Regions from separate parts of the Homo sapiens genome. Here region 2 is linked to region 1. The links are contacts of gene promoters, found by promoter capture Hi-C in human tissues and cell types (Jung and others, 2019). All regions are on one chromosome and are shown on one strand. The core of a region is centred on a gene start or on the middle of the fragment in contact, and the rest is flanking DNA. Distances in the headings are between cores, read along the strand shown.

Region 1 (2,700 bases), core at 106-2,605:
TTGAGTAATATCTTGATGGTTGATGAAATATTTGATAATTGGATGAGAAGAGAACTGTGTTGTCTCCAGTGATGCTGCAAATGGGTGAGGAGAAATGCTGCCATTTGTGAGGTTTGTGGGCGGCAAGGTTGAAGAAGAGAATAATGAAAAAGCTAGCGTCATCCTCAAGGCCTGTTGATAGTCTTGATTATTGTTTTCTGTGTTTTTACCTCATGGTGCTCAATATGTATTTGTTCAGTGAGCAAATAAATGTAAGGTCAGATTCTGCAAACAAAAGTCAAAGAAATCTTACTTCCTGGAAAAGTTAGCCCAATTAAGTGCAGCTTTCCAGTCACCCCTCCTGGCTCCATTTTATTTCAGCTGTAAGGGATCCGAGAGACTTTAGCCCAAGGTGTTTCTTCAAAGCAATAAGTGGAAATGTTTCCCCACATTAAGACTGCACAGACGAACTGTCATGACCAGGCTCTTGGTCCCCTGTGGACGCATCCCACTTGGTGTCCTGGTTACCTGGGCTATCTTGGGCTGACCTCATCATTCTAGTAGTGATGGCCTGGCAGAGACATTAAAAGGCTTCTTCATGGAGTCTGGCTGGTTTCACATCCTGGCTTTGCTGGGTTAGATTGGAGAAGTGACTTAACTTCTTAGTGACTCCATTTGCTCATTTGTAAAATGGGTATAGTAATAGCTCCCGTCTCATAGGATCATTGTGAAGATTAAACAGAACAATCCAGGTAACGCATGCAGGAGGGTATCTTGCACACAATATGCAGTAAATGTTAGCCATTATGATGGAGATTATAGTTGTCTTTGATTAATGCAAATTAACAAATTTACTTACTAAATTTAATTTGACATTCTTTGAAAATATGCTCTCTCTCTCTCTCTCTCTCTCTGTGTGTGTGTGTGTGTGTGTGTGTGTATTGAAAGACAGAGAGAGACTGGTGTTTGGTGGTGAAAGTTTTGGGCCCACGTAGGCCAGCATCCTTTTCAGTTGAAGTTGTGCTTGTGGGAGGTGAAATGACTTGCCCAAGGCAATACCACTAGGAATAGCCCAGGTAAGTTTAAATACTATGTTTTTTGACTCTCAACCCAGTGACTTTTCCACTATATCTCATTTCCAGGCATTGCTGGTTCGTTTTTTTCGAAAATCATTCCAAATTATATTCCAATTCGACTTTCTTCAAGTTCATCCCAGAAAAGCAAAGGCCGGGCACTTGAACAAGAACAGCTGTCAGCCTGGGGCGAGGGGGCAGTGTTGGTGGGGGCTGGAGCGGGGCCGGACTCTAATTGGTCCACGGCCTCGGCCCGACTATCAAATCAGCAGAGCCTGCGTCATCACGTCGTTGCCTGGGCTGCCGTCCGCGGAAATTTGAAATGGCTGACGGGTCGCTGACGGGCGGCGGTCTGGAGGCAGCGGCCATGGCGCCGGAGCGCATGGGCTGGGCGGTGGAGCAGGAGCTGGCGTCTCTGGAGAAAGGTGAGCTCTCCATGCCGGGGCCGAGGAGCCGCCTCTGAGCGGAGGCCTGGGGCGTCGGGACCCTAGGAGGGCGCCTGGGTCGCGGGCCTTCCGGACCCGTCTGTCCAGGGTGGCGGGAACGGCGGTGCGCGGCCGGGACCCAGTGACGGGACCTCAAAGTCGGGCGGTACCCAGGGGTGGGGGACTCCCTCTCTTCCCTATCCGCATCTCCCACTCTCCCTGCACTCTCTGGCCTCCGCCCGCCCCGAGGTTGGAGGGAGCTGGATTGGGCCAGGAATTCCCTATCTGGATGGGTTTTGCGGGAACTGTGCATTTACTGTTGCTCAAGGGGCCATTTTTTCATCTGCATCTCAAAGGAGATCACGAACCACACTTCCCTTTTCCGAAGAAGAGAAAAGCTTGAACCCTTGGCTTAGATGGCTGTCCTGTGCACGGAGGGTAGTGACGTGTCCAAAGTGAGGAGCGCCAACTTGGGCCGGAGTCCAGAAATAGAACCGGGGTCTTCTAGTTCTCTGCCCTTTCTTCCTCCTCATAGAGTTTCATTACTATTTTTTTTTTCTGATATTTTAAGCTGGTTCATGTTTTTACGTTAACACTTTCGGTTGTATTGTGTAGCAGAGAGTCCCAACAAAGTGAGAAAACATAAGTGTGACAATTCCACTATTAACCCACCTATCCAACTGGCAAAAGTCACTTGGCTTCAGTTTTCCCATCTGGAAGACTATGCCAATGGTTGTACTTGTGGTGAAGTTGAAGTGAAATAAAGTTTTTAAAGTGGCTGCAAAAATAAATACTGCATGGCATCGCTTATATTGGGAATCTAAAAAAGAGGAAGTTTCAGAAAGAGAGTAGAGTGGTAGTTGCCAGTGGGTTGGGGGAATGGGGAGATGCTGGGCAAAGGGTCCAAAGTTTCAGTTATGCAGTGTGAATAGTTCTGGGGATCTGATGTACATACAGCATGGTGACTATAGTTAATAATACTGTATTATTATTACAGTATTAATAGGCAATGACGTGATGGTGCAATGCGACACAAATTTTGTACTTGAAATTTGCTAACAGAGTAGATCATAAGTGTTCACACCACACACACACAAAAGGTAACTATGCGAGGTGATGGAAATATTAATTCACTTTACTGTGGTAATCATTTCATAATGTATAGGTATATCAAAACATCATGTTACACACTTTATTTTTTATTTTATTTTATTTTTTTTGAG
Region 2 (2,700 bases), core at 196-2,695, 510 kb before region 1:
AGAACCACAGAACTGCTTCATGTGCTAAATAATTGCAGGGTTTAGCATTAATGGAATTTGTTTTAATATCTCAGCCTGATTATAACTCAAGCAGTGTACAAAGACCTTGTTATACAACTCAGGAAACTGTGTTTATAATGATACAGAATTTAGAATGGATTAATAGTCACAACTGTATTACCAAAAACTGTATCAGTACATCTTTCTATCCCTAATTGCTGTGCAGATTCGCCCTATTCTTTATACGTCGTTTTTATATTTAGTGGCACAGCTCATTTGGTCGATTGAGTTGTGAATAGCTAGTAATTACTTGAGAAAAAAAGAAAACTGTGCAGCCCTCTAAATAAAGTTGAAAAGAATATAATAGGCTATTTGGCCTTGCAACTTTATTTTCAGTATGATTGTTCTGCCTTACTTGTGTATTCTGTGCAAATTTCATAAAGCAGTTATTTTATACAAGCACATTTTTATTGGTCATTGTATACCGTAATTGTGCTGGCACAGTTCATCCCTTTGCCATAGTTGCCGTTGCTGTCTTGCCTTCAGTTTATTGGCCTCTTACATGCCCTGTCTGCTGGCTTTGTGTGGTTATTTGCTTATAGATGGATTTGTAAATGTCAAACTGGTAAATAGTTACACCTGTGATTAAGGAGGAATGGTATACTGCGCACGAAATATTGACCAGTGGCATATGATCTGAATGATATGCCTGGGGAGATAGTGTCTACTAATGAGATAAATTGACACAAATGGTTGGGTTATTTGCTGAATTATCAAATACCTACTATTACCTGACTTTTCTTTTTGATCATAAATCTTCTGTATTAAAAAATGTTTCAAAACTCCATTCTTCTAATCAGATCCAGTGTAAAGATGTGAAGAGTTCAAGATCTCAGCATAACGTGAGATCTTCAACACTACCATCAACCAAAAAAAGGGAAGGGGGAAATTAACGTTATTGAGAAAAGACAGAGGAGACACAGAGGTCAGCAAGGATGCAAGAAACCAAGGATGAAGAGGTCAAAGAATTAGATTTTAAGATACGAACTGAATAACAAGAGCTACCTCTTAACCATTTCTACGTTGGTGACTTTGGTAGTAGACACCCAGTACGTGCTATTGAGTGAACAGTGGTAACTGTCTACCAACCACTTGCACTAGCAGACTCCAGTGCCTCCACCTCCCTCACCCCTCACGTCCTGTAAGTTGCACTTGACTCTACACCTGAACCATGTCATTAGTTTCTCCTCCTTTCCCTTTCCACTGCTACCACTCTGCTTCAAAGATGGTAATGCAAACATGATCACCTTTCCTTCCTAATCTTCTCTCTTCTCATTAAAAGTATAGACCCCACACAACCATTAGGATTATTGGTCTAAAACACAGAAGTGATAATGTCATACACTTGTTTAAAAACCTACAAGGGCTTCTCATTATAGTTAGAAGTCCACACTTTTTAGCATGCCATTCAAAACTTGTTACAATCAGATCTCACCCAACTTTTCTCTAACCTACTATACTGCTGTAGCCTTCCACTTGCCAACCACACTGTATTACTCAGAGTTCCCTAAAACCTGCTGTAGGTTAGAGCTCATGCCTCCATGTTTTTATTTTATTTTATTTTATTTTATTTTATTTTATTTTATTTTATTTTATTTTATTTTATGTTATGTCATTTTATGTTATGTTATTTTATGTTACTTTATGTTATTGAGGCATGGTCTCACTCTTTCGCCCAGGCAGTAGTGCAGTGGCACGATCATGGCTCACTGCAGCCTCTTAACTCCTGGGCACTAGTGATCCTCCTGCCTCAGCCTCCCAAGTGGCTAGGACTATAGGCACATGCCACCATGCCTGGCTAATTTTTTTTTTTTTTTCCGTAGAGACAGGGCCTCTGGAACTCCTGGGCTCAAGCAATCCTCTCGCCTCAGCCTCCCAAGGTGTTGGGATTTGCAGGCATGAGCCACCAGCGCCCTGCCCTCCATGTTCTTATTTAAGCTGTTTCTTTCTCCTTTTCCTGGGCTCAAGGACTGTAAGGTCCAACCAGAGTATGCCTTCTTTTTTGGGAGTTTTCCTCATTCTATTTCCCTTAACCCCCAGCAGAATGGACCTTCTGCTTCCATTATGCCTTCTGCATATCTCCTGTTAAACTCCGTTTCACCTTGTATTGTAGATTCAACAATACATTGATTCCTTGTGGATGCTGGTTTGTCCTAATATCCATCATTTATTTAGCAGAATGTCTGGCACATAAAAATACTATATACATTATCTCATTTAATCTTCACAACCACCAATGAGGTTGACCTATTTATACGTCATCTCCATTTTACAAATAAGTAAACTGAGCTGAAAAGGCCTCACAGCTGGTAGAAGGCAAAACTTGAACCCTAGCCTAGATTCATGAAACTCCTTAAGTCCATACTCTTAACCATTTTGCTCGATTTCTCTCTCCACACCTGTGCATCCTTGGTGCCCGCTCTTCAGTGGATACTCTGTAAGTGCCTATTCACTGAATGAATAACTCCAGTTCACGCAGTAGTTCGGGACAGGCTGGCAGTGTGGTTTCCTTTGAAAGGGAGAGTGCAGCATCCATGAAAATGTTTCTTTAAATCTTCAAACCACATACACAAAACAATTCAATATGTTGTTGATTGGGTCTCAGAAATGTTCAACATGGAAAAAAGCTTCAGTGTTAAA

What was found. The method cuts DNA at HindIII sites, captures the fragments that hold promoters and counts their contacts. A contact is called where the count stands out against the background at its distance.
Region 2: a fragment that was not itself captured here is called in contact with the fragment with the promoter of SHCBP1 in region 1 in 1 of the 25 tissues and cell types used here (lymphoblastoid cells).

Annotation. Positions count from the first base shown.
Region 1 is chr16:46,620,034-46,622,733 of GRCh38, reverse strand. It overlaps SHCBP1 (SHC binding and spindle associated 1), which reads left to right and starts at 1,355. Exons shown (of 13, transcript NM_024745.5): 1 at 1,355-1,477. The coding sequence starts at 1,375. RefSeq lists enhancers at 1,037-1,623, 1,624-2,212. The HindIII fragment of the contact is 15,901 bases long and covers 1-2,700 here.
Region 2 is chr16:47,132,571-47,135,270 of GRCh38, reverse strand. The region is part of intron 1 of NETO2 (neuropilin and tolloid like 2); the gene reads left to right. Among named protein-coding and RNA genes, the nearest start is that of NETO2, 10 kb to the left of the region's middle. The HindIII fragment of the contact is 4,421 bases long and covers 1-2,700 here.